Regions from separate parts of the Homo sapiens genome. Here region 1 is linked to region 2. The links are contacts of gene promoters, found by promoter capture Hi-C in blood cells and fetal thymus (Javierre and others, 2016). All regions are on one chromosome and are shown on one strand. Each heading gives the region's core, a stretch centred on a gene start or on the middle of the fragment in contact. The rest is flanking DNA. Distances are from core to core; before and after follow the strand shown. Region 1 holds the start of PRKRIP1 (PRKR interacting protein 1). Region 2 holds the start of ALKBH4 (alkB homolog 4, lysine demethylase).

What was found. Contacts are between HindIII fragments. The CHiCAGO score rates a contact against its expected background, and 5 or more counts as called.
Region 1: a fragment that was not itself captured here is called in contact with the fragment with the promoter of ALKBH4 in region 2 in 7 of 17 cell types (total B cells, naive B cells, total CD8 T cells and 4 more); the score reaches 8.6 in total B cells.

Annotation. Positions count from the first base shown.
Region 1 is chr7:102,393,941-102,399,263 of GRCh38, forward strand. It overlaps PRKRIP1 (PRKR interacting protein 1), which reads left to right and starts at 2,423. Exons shown (of 6, transcript NM_024653.4): 1 at 2,423-2,597; 2 at 3,680-3,758. The coding sequence starts at 2,472. It overlaps LOC100630923 (LOC100289561-PRKRIP1 readthrough), which reads left to right. Exons shown (of 9, transcript NR_038967.1): 5 at 3,680-3,758. RefSeq lists a silencer at 2,279-2,358 and enhancers at 2,379-2,618, 2,400-2,941. The HindIII fragment of the contact is 3,429 bases long and covers 1-3,071 here.
Region 2 is chr7:102,460,741-102,466,112 of GRCh38, forward strand. It overlaps ALKBH4 (alkB homolog 4, lysine demethylase), which reads right to left and starts at 4,123. Exons shown (of 3, transcript NM_017621.4): 1 at 3,974-4,123. The coding sequence starts at 4,096. LRWD1 (leucine rich repeats and WD repeat domain containing 1) reads left to right here and starts at 4,244. Exons shown (of 15, transcript NM_152892.3): 1 at 4,244-4,420; 2 at 5,077-5,311. The coding sequence starts at 4,341. MIR5090 (microRNA 5090) reads left to right here and starts at 5,002; the gene lies at 5,002-5,086. RefSeq lists enhancers at 3,866-4,515, 4,645-5,171, 4,795-4,894, 5,172-5,372 and a silencer at 4,025-4,454. The HindIII fragment of the contact is 18,940 bases long and covers 1-5,372 here.

The DNA.
Region 1 (5,323 bases), core at 107-2,606, 70 kb before region 2:
TAAAAGACAAAAAATTAGCCGGGCGTGGTGGCGTGCACCTGTAGTCCCAGCTACTCGGGAGGCTGAGGCAGGAGAATTGCTTGAACCTGGGAAACGGAGGTGCAGTGAGCTGAGTTCGCACCACTGCACTCCAGCCTGGCGACAGAGCAACACTCTGTCTCACAAAAAAAAAAAAAATTCCCCACTGGCTCTTCCACAAGTCAGCTGGAGGATCCCTTCACTTCTGCTTCCATTGTCTTCCCTGCACTCAAGCACAAGCTCTGAAATAAATGCCTTGTCTGGGAAATCTGCTTGGATCCCTGTTAAGTTTCATTACAAGGGGAGCCAAACAGCCTATGGTCTGTAACACCAAATGTATGTGAGCAACAGCTTTTCTCTTTCTCTTTCTCTCTCTAATTTTTTTTTCTTTTTCTTTTTCTTTTTTTTAGACACAGAGTCTTGCTCTGTCACCCAGGCTGGAGTGCAGTGGCACGATCTTGGCTCACAGCAACCTCCATCTCCCAGTTTCAAGCTATTCTCCTGTCTCAGCCTCCTGAATAGCTGGGATTACAGGCACACACCACCACACCTGGCTAATTTTTGTATTTTTAATAGAGATGGGGTTTCACCATGTTGGCCATGCTGGTCTCAAACTCCTGACTTCAAGTGATCTGCCCATCTCGGCCTCCCAAAACGTTGGGATTACACGTGTGAGCCACCATGCCGGGCCTTTTCTGTTTCTCAATGTCAACTAAACAAAAAATCAGGCTTTTAAAAAATTAAGGTTGGTTTTTTGCAATCTTACTGAGGACTGTAACCAGGGAAAGTCTTTCACAGAGTTTGTTAAACTGCTCCAAAACAGAGTTTCAGCACACATTTATATATTTATATTTATATACAGTTTATATAAAAACATTTATATACAGTTGGTGGTGCCCTGCATGTGCTCAGAAGTTATATCAAGCTGGGCGTGGTGGCTCATGCCTATAATCCCAGCACTTTGGGAGGCTGAGGCGGGTGGATCACCTGATGTCAGGAGTTCGAGACAAGCCTGGCCAACATGGTGAAACTCCATCTCTACTAAAAATACAATAATTAGCCAGGCGTGGTGGCGTGCACCTGTATTCCCAGCTACTCAGGAGACTGAAGCAGGAGGATCACTTGAACCTGGGAGGCAGAGGCTGCAGTCAGCCGAGATTGCATCACTGAGCTCTAGCCTGGGGGACAGAGTGAGACTCTGTCTCAAAAAAAAAAAAAAAAAGTTATATCTAATGTGCTCAGAAGTTAACAATAGAGCAAAATTTCATCAAGGCTGTGTGTGAGGGTATTATCTAGTTACAGATTACAGAGGCTTGGCTGGGCATGGTGACTTAACACCTATAATTTCAGCACTTTCGGAGGCCCAGGCAGGAGGATCGCTTGAGCCCAGGAGTTCAAGACCAGCCTGGGCATCACAGCAACACCTTGTCTCTGCAAAAAATAAAAATAAAAAATTAACTGGGTGTGGTGGCATGCGCCTGTAGTCTCAGCTACTCAGGAGGCTGAGGTGGGAGGAGTGCCTGAACCCGGGAGTTCAAGGCAGCAGTGACCTATGATCGAGCCCCTGCACTCCAGCCTGGGCAACCAAGCGAGACCCTGTCTCTAAAAAAAAAAAAAAAGTTATAGAAGCATAATCATTAATCCCGTCAGAGATTATGTACAGGAAGAGGCAGGGGCTAGGATCATTGAACTTGTCTTTTCTAAAAATGCAGTGTTCAGGCAAGAGAGGTGGAAACCTGTGTTCTCTCTCGCTCTTCCCAGCTTATTGTTCAGGGCGTTATTGGAGAGGGCTGCGCTCAGTCACCGAGTCACGGCCTTTGTGAAATCCTGCTCGCAAGCAGAATGAGCAGACATGGTTCCTTAGGTTTATTACTGTGCCTCACACTACGAGACGGTCATTCATTGGCAGAGGTGTATTTGCGGGGGGCCAGGTATAGAGTAATTCAAGGCGGACAAAGGAGGAATGTCCCAGTCTTCAGGAAGCTCAGTGACATGTTTGCGCTGTCTTATGTAAACAGGAGATTGTCAGAAATGGAGGAGGGGGCACCAGATCCAAGGAAGTGCCCGGACAAAGCCGGGAGGCGAGGAGAGCCGACGGGGAGGAGGTGCCGAGAGCATCAGCGGGGCTGCTCGGTGGCACGAAGACGCCCGCGGGGACTGGAGAGGTCGGCTAGGGCCAGGCTACTCAGGCACGGAGGGCCACCTCCCCTTCAGGGACGTGAGCATCTAGCTGCACTGATTTGTTGTTCAGGAACAGGAAATGAAACCCCGCAGCTTTGAACACAATAACCCACGCCAGCCTCAGGCTCATGAATATTCAGCAGGCTGCTTGCGCCTTGCAACCCCGCCTCCGTTCCCCTCTGCGGAGACTGCGTATGCGTCGCCGGCGCGCGGCTGTGTCGTCATACTTGCGCGCCGACGCCGCCGCTCGCTTGTGAAACTGGAAGGCTGCCATGGCTAGCCCAGCCGCCTCCTCGGTGCGACCACCGAGGCCCAAGAAAGAGCCGCAGACGCTCGTCATCCCCAAGAATGCGGCGGAGGAGCAGAAGCTCAAGCTGGAGCGGCTCATGAAGAACCCGGTGAGACGAGGCCCAGGCTCCACGGCCCGTCCGAGGCCCACCCCCTTCCTCTGCAGCGCTTCAGGGTTCCCGCAGGTCCACCTTCCCCGCCTCCAAACTCAGAAACTCAGTATCCGACCCTCCAAGAGCAGTCTTTGGGGAGGAGGAGGAGAAGGAGGCTGTCCCGGAGATAGTGAACTTCCCGTCTGTCCTTGTGTGAGAGCCCAGCTTGAATCAAAGCACGGTGGAGCGGCTTCCCGTGCTCCAAGACCCCTTCTGGTTTAACTTTCTGTGAACAAAAAGCGTTAGACTGAAAAGGTAGAATTTGTGGGTTAGCAAAAGGGTATACTCTAAACAACACTGATCGTTAGAGAGACAGTGGCCGAGACGTTTGGAGCTGGTCACTCCTCTCCCGCTCACACCCCCTCTGGGCCTCGGTCCCCTCAATCATAAAAACAATTGAACGGGAACGTCCTTTATACCTTTAACTAGAAAAGCTTGACTCTTCTTATCTAGTAGTGTTAAAGTTGGCGGTTTCTAGCTGGAAACTATGGCTTAGGTTTTTCAGTTCTGCTCTGGAAAGCGTAGCCCTGGGAAGGTGTGGACTGTGTTATACCCAAGAGTACATAGGATGAAAAAAGCCACGACAGAGGGAAGAACACAAAATCAGCTCTGTGTCCAAGTAGCAAAGCAGTCCTGCTTCATTAGTCAATTAAAATTCTTTGGTCTTAAGAGATGTAACTTGGGCTGGGTGCTGTGGCCCCTGCCTGTAATTTCAGCGCTTTGGGAGGCCAGGCGGGAGGATGGTCCGAGGCCAGGAAGGAGTTCAAGACCAGCCTGGGCAACATAGTGGGTCCCTGTCTTTACAAAAATAAAAAAATTGCCTGGTGTGGTGGTGTACGCCTGAGAGTCCTAACTATTCTGGAGACTGAACCGGGAGGATCACTTGAGCCCAGGAGTTCAAGGCTGCAGTGAGCTCTGATTGCACCACTGCACTCCAGCCTGAGGAACAGAGCAAGAACCTGTCTCTAAAAAAAGAGAGGGAGATATATAATTTTGTCAACAGGTTTATACTTAAATGCTTTCATGTTTAAATGTTGCAGGACAAAGCAGTTCCAATTCCAGAGAAAATGAGTGAATGGGCACCTCGACCTCCCCCAGAATTTGTCCGAGATGTCATGGGTAATGGCTGTGTGTGTGTGTGTGTGTGTGTGTGTGTGTAAATATAATTTTTTAAGGTAGCTATAGGCTGGGCGTGGTGGCTCATGCCTCTAATCCCAGCACTTTGGGAGGCCGAGGCGGGCGGATCATGAGGTCAGGAGATCGAGACCATCCTGGCTAACACGGTGAAACCCCGTCTCTACTAAAAATACAAAAAAAATTAGCCGGGCGTGGTGGCAGGCACCTGTAGTCCCAGCTACTTGGGAGGCTGAGGCAGGAGAATGGCGTGAACCCAGGAGGCGGAGCTTGCAGTGAGCCGAGATGGCGCCACTGCACTCCATCCTGGGCAACAGAGCGACATTCTGTCTCAAAAAGAAAAAAAAAAGGTAGCTATAAAAATCCTGTAGTTGGTATTTGTTAAATCTCTGATGAGGGGAAATGTGTGTTCACATGTTCGTGTTTTGCTTTTACAATGACGGGGATATAGTTGCTTTTATTTGTTTTTCATTTGACATTGGTAAATTTAGCTTAAGGGCTATAGTTGCTTATGGTTTGGCACTATAGAATTTTCTCCTGCAGTATTGCGGTTTTTTTTGTTTTTGTTTTTGTTTTTGTTTTTCTTTTGGAGACAGAGTCTCACTCTGTCACCCAGGCTGTAGTGCAGTGACACCATCTCGGCTCACTGCAACCTCCGCCTTCCGGGTTCAAGCGATTCTCCTGCCTTAGCCTCCTGAGTAGCTAGGACTACAGGCCCGTGCCACCATGCCTGGCTGATTGTTTTATTTTTAGTAGAGACTGGGTTTCACTATGTTGGCCAGGCTGGTCTTGAACTCCTGACCTCAGGTGATCCGCCCGCCTCAGCCTCCCAAAATGCTAGGATTACAGCTGTGAACCACAGTGCCCGGCCATCTCCTGCATTATTCTTAATAACGCATTGTGGTTTTTTTGTAAATAAAAATAGTTTTATTATTTTGTTGGATCATAAATTAACATATCTACAGGCTTACCATGGAGATGGTGCGGGTTTAGTTCCAGGCAACCTAGTTAAAGTGAATGTCGCAATAAAGGGAATCATGTAAATTCTTTAGTTTCCCACTGCACATACAAGTTTTCTTTATACTCTACTGTAGTTTAATGTGCAATAGCATTATGTCTTTAAAAAGCAACATAGGCCAGGCACGGTGGCTCGTGCCTGTAATCCCAGCACTTTGGGAGGCCGAGACAGGAGAATTGCTCGAGTTTGAGACCAGCCTGGGCAACACAGGAAGACCTCATCTCTACTAAAAATGTAAAAATTAGCCAGGCATAGTGGTGCATGCCTCTGGTCCCAGCTACTTGGGAAGCTGAGGCAGGAGGATGGCTTGAGCCCAGGAGGTTGAGGCTCCAATGAGCTGTGATTGCGCCACTGCCCTCCATCTTGGGTGACAGAGCAAGGCCCTGTCTCAAAAAAAAGAAAAAAGCTGAAGAAAAAACACTTTTACAAAAATATGATTGTTCTACATATACAACTTTGTAAGCACCTTTATTTCATTTAATGTATCATGGATGTCTTTTCAACTCACTAGAAATTTAGCGTGTCAAATGTG
Region 2 (5,372 bases), core at 2,873-5,372:
TCTTTAGGTCTTTGCTGATGCCACCCCGGTGTCCCAGGGGTTGGCCCGTGCCTATCACCAGCGTGAGGGTCACCTAGGAGGGCAGCCAACTTCCCTACAGAGCTGAGCGTTCAGTTGAGCTCCTCAGTGTCCCAACCTCCCTTCTCCTCACTCTTGTCCTCAGGGCACCTTTCCAGACCCAGCATCACCCCTCAATCCTCATACCCTGGGCTGTCACTCAACTCCCACCCCATGTCCCTCTCTGCTCTGCCACCAACCCCGAGGCCTGGCGGTACTCTAAGGGTTCCCCCATGCTAAAGAAAGTCTAGAAACCAGGCCAGGCACGGTGGCTCACACCTGTAATCCCAACACTTTGGGAGGCCAAGGTGGACTGATCACCTGGGGTCAGGAGTTCAAGACCAGCCTGGCCAACATGGCAAAACCCCGTCTCTATTAAAAATACAAAAACTAGCCGGGCGTCGTGGTGCATGCCTGTAATCCCAGCTACTCAGGTGGCTGAGGCAGGAGAATCCCTTGAACCCGGGAGGTGGAGATTGCAGTGAGCCAAGATCGTGCTAGTGGACACCAGCCTGGGTGACACAGTGAGACCCCATCTTGAAAATAATAATAATACTTTTTGTTTGTTTGTTTGTTTGTTTGAGATGGAGTCTCGCTCTGTCACCAGAACTGGAGTGCAGTGGCACGATCTCGGCTCACTGCAACCTCTACCTCCTGGGTTCAAGCGATTCTCCTGCCTCAACCTCCCGAGTAGCTGGGACTACAGGTGCGCGCCACCATGCCCAGCTAATTTTTTTCTTGTATTTTAGTAGAGACGAGGTTTCACCATGTTGACCAGGATGGTCTTGAACTCCTGACCTTGTGATCCTCCCGCCTTGGCCTCCCAAAGTGCTGGGATTACAGGCGTGAACCACCATGCCCAGCCAATAGTAAATTTTTAAAAAAGAGTTTCGCCAATGAAATAGCCAGTATTTGCATCTGTGGCACTGAACATTTTACATGGATTATCTAGTTTCATCCCCAGGACAGCCCCAAGAGGAAGGTACCATAACTATCATGGGCAGGAGGTGTGGAGGTTCTGGCCGGAGTCACCCAGTGAGGACTTCGGAGGCCACCAGAACTCAGCCCTGGGCTCTGTGGCCTGTCTCCTCTTCCTCTTCCATCTCCAGGCTCCTCACACCCTGGGCTGCCACTCACTGTGGGCCGCTGTCTTTCTCTGTTCTTCCCTCCAGGGACCTCAGCCCCTTCCAATGCTTTACTTCCAGCCACCGACTCCAGCTCAGACCCCTCCTGAGATTGGCACTATCTCCTCCTGCTCCTGGGGCCCTCCCACGGGAAACATTAAAACTGGGAGTCCCCCGTGTGTCGGCTGAGCAGGCTGGACTTGTCCGAAAGGCCATGGAGCGCTCTTGAAGGGTTTTAAAGGAGTGACGAGGTCAAATGTGAATTTTAGAAAGATCTGGAGGGGGGAGGGGCAGATATGAAGGGTGGAGGCTGGAAAGCCAGTGAGGAACTGCCCCAGTGCCCTGAGATCCTGGATACCTCACTCTCCTTGTTCCATAGCCATCGGGTTGGGAAGATGTCACCTCCACATGGCCACTGGAACGGGTCAGACTTTCCGCAATTTTTTTCTTTTCTTTTTTTTTGTTTGAGGCAGGGTCTCGCTCTGTCACTCAGGCTGGAGTGTAGTGGCGCTCACAGCTCACTGCAGCCTTGACCTCCTGGGCTCAGGCAATCCTCCCACCTCAGCCTCCCAAGTAACTGGGACTACAAGCACACACCACCACACCTAGCTAATTTTTAAATTTTTTGTAGAGACAGGGTCTTGCTATGTTGTCCAAGCTGGTCTCAAACTCCTAGACTCAGGCGAGCCTCCTGCCTCAGCCTCCCAAAGGGCTGGGATTATAGGCATGAGCCACCGCACCTGGCCCCTTCCACAAATTAAAACTCTTAAGTTCATTCATATTGTTGTACAGCCGTCACCACCATTCAGAACTTTTTCATCTTGCAAAACTGAAACTCTTTCCCTATTAAACAACAGGTCCCCATCTCCCCTTCCTGAGCCCTTGGCAACAACCCTTCTACTTTCTGTCCCTGTGACTACCCTACGTAGCTCACACAACAGGAATCATGCAGTATTTGTCTTCTGTGACTGCTTCCTTAACTTAGCATCGTGTCCCCAAGGTTCGTCCATGCTGTAACATATGTCAAAATGTCCTTTTTTTTTTTTTTTTTTTTGAGACAGGGTCTCACTATGTTGCCCAAGCTGGAGTGCAGTGGCGTGATCACAGCTCACTGCAGCCTTGACCTCCCAGGCTCAAGCAACCCTCCCACCTCAGCCTCCTGGGTAGCTGGGACTACAGGTACGTGTCACCATGTATGGTTAATTTTTTTGTAGAGGTGGGATTTCACCATGTTGCCCATGCTGGTCTCAAACTCCTGGGCTCTGGCAATCTGCCTGCCTCGGTCTCCCAAAGTGCTGGAATTACAGGTGTGAGCCACTGTGCCCGGCCTGTCCTTCCTTTTTAAGGCTGAATAGTATTCTACTATGTGTATGCACCACATTTTGTGGATCAAGTCATCTCTTTTTTTTTTTTTTTTTTTTTTTTTGAGAAGGAGTCTTGCTCTGTCACCTGAGCTGGAGTGCAGTGGTGCGATCTTGGCTCACTGCAACCTCTGCCTCCTGGGTTCAAGCGATTCTCCTGCCTCAGCCTCCCGAGTAGCTGGGATTACAGATGTGCCTCACCAAGCCCGGCAAGTTTTTGTAATTTTAGTAGAGGCAGGGTTTCGCCATGTTAGCCAGGCAGGTCTCAAACTCCTGACCTCAGGTGATCTGCCCACCTCAGCCTCCCAAAGTGCTGGGATTACAGGCGTGAGCCACTGAACCCGGCCCAGGTATCTTGATAGATGCTTGGTTTGCTTCCATCTTTGGGCTGTCATGAATAATGTCGTGAATATGAACATGGGTGTGCAAATATCTCTTCCAGACCCTGCTTTTAGTTCCTTTGGATATATACCCAGAAGCAGGATTGCGGATCATGGGTAATTCTATGTTTAATTCATGAGGCATGCCATGCTGTTTCCATAGGACCTTGGGCACTTTTACCATGGACGTTGGGGCAGTCTTCACTGGCTTACCAGCCTCCACACCTTCATATCTGCCCGTTCCCTTCCCAGGATCTTTCTAAAATTCACATTTGACTTCATCACTCCTTTAAAACCCTTCAAGAGCTCTCCAGGGCCTTTGGGACAAGTCCAGCCTGCTCAGCTGATGCACCGGGGAGCATCTGTGATCAGACCTCCCCCCCCCCACAACCTCTCCAGCCTCATCTCTCTCACCTGAGGCATCACCAATCCACCTTCCTACCCCACGCAGTTTTCTGGGTTGGAATGCCCTTGCAACCAACCACAGTCCTTCCATGCCAGCCCAAAGGCGCTGAGTTCTTTTTCTTTTTTTATTTATTTTCTTTTTGTGAGACAGAGTCTCGCTCTGTCGCCCAGGCTGAAGTGAGGTGGCTCGATCATAGCTCACTGCAGCCTCCAGCTCCTGGGTTGCAGCGATCCTTGAGTTCCTTTTCGTTAGTTAACTGGAATTCACTGTCTCCTTGCCCATTGCAGTCCACGGCCTTCAGGCACCGTTGGACTGGTATTCAGCACCCTCGATCGACCCTTTCCGTGTCATCTCCCTGCAGGCCCGTGAAGCTCCCAGCGCCAGACCCGAGAGGCTACGTCGAGGTTTACAGGCAGATCCCCCCAGAGTCCCCGAGGTGACCTGTAATCGAACCCACCCACGTTCCAGCTCCTTCCCCACTCCCAAGCCCGCTCCTTAAAGCCCTCATCTCCTCACCCTGCATCACCCCTACCGTAAGGGTCCCTCACAGGCTTCGATCCCGGCCCCTATCATGGCCAAGCTGGACCTCAGTTTCCCCAGATGCAGAGCGACGTTTGTGGGCGCGGCCCCTCTCCCACCCCTTACCGCTGGGGGCAGCTCCCAGGGCGGGTCACTGCCGCGCTGCCGCTCGCAGATCAGACAGGTCCGGATGCCCTTGCAACCGCATTCCCGAAGGACTTCGGGGGTCTCGGCGGCAGCCGCCGCCATCGCGCCGTCCGCGTGGCCAGTGCGCAGGCGCGGCCGTGGGGGCCGCTGGGAGTTGTAGTCCGCGCCGGGCGGGGGCACGAGGCCTGGGTTCCGCTTCCTTCCGGTCGTTAACGCCCACGGGCTCGCGCGGCGCCGCCTCCTGGGCTCAGTTACCGCGGACGCCAGTGCCGGGCTCCAGGAGACGCAGGGCGACGCCACACGCCGGGGTGGCCGACTGGGTCAGCGCGGGCTGCGCCTCCTCGCCATGGGCCCCCTCTCGGCGCGGCTGCTAATGCAGCGCGGGCGCCCCAAGAGCGACCGGCTGGGGAAGATCCGGAGTCTGGAGTAAGAGCCGGGCAGCGGGTGAGGCTGTGTCCTCGGGGCCGGGCGGTCGGGGAGAAGAGCGGGGACCCTCCCCAACGGCCCGCTTGTCCCCGTTATCGCCCTCTGGGTTCGGCAGAGTGGTCCAAATGTCTTCTTGTTGGGAGATCGTGGCCCCACCCGCTCGCCGGGAGCCCCGAGGGGCCTCATCCCCTGAAGGGAGCCCGGACAGTTAGGGGCACAGCCTGCCGCTATCGTTAGAGGGCCTGGGAAGCACAGACGAGCCCCCGAAGGATCAGGAAGAGCATCCTAGAGGGGGCTAGGATGCCCCCGAGTCCTAAAGTAGTTGCAGCTTTTTTTTTTTTTTTTTTTTTTTTTTTTTTTTTTTTGTTAAGTGGTGTGGAGTCGGGAGTAGTGGCGCGCGCTTCTAGTCCCAGCTACTCGAGAGGCTGAGGCGGGAGGATCCCTCAGCCCAGGAGTTGGAGGCAGCTGTGAGCTATGATCGCGCCTAGGCGACTGAGTGACACCCCGTCTCTAAAAATAAAGTAACGGGGGGATGGGCGGGGCGGCTACACTTGTACGAGAAATGTCAGGTGAAAAAGCCTTCTGAGGTACCCGGGGCAGATTGGTGTAGGGTGCAAAGCCTGCCCGCCCCCTAAGCCTTCTGCCCCCAACTCCAGCCTGTCAGGATTGGAGCTGCTTTCCGAGCACCTGGACCCCAAACTCCTGTGCCGCCTGACGCAGCTGCAGGAGCTTGACCTGTCTAACAACCACCTGGAGACGCTGCCGGACAACCTGGGCCTGTCCCACCTGCGTGTCCTCCGCTGCGCCAACAACCAGCTGGGGGATGTTACTGCCTTGTGCCAGTTCCCCAAGCTCGAGGAACTCAGCCTGGAGGGCAACCCCTTCCTGACGGTAAGTGGGAGCCTCCCACCAGCTTCATACCTGGGGCCAGGACTCTGTTGGGCTCAGGCTC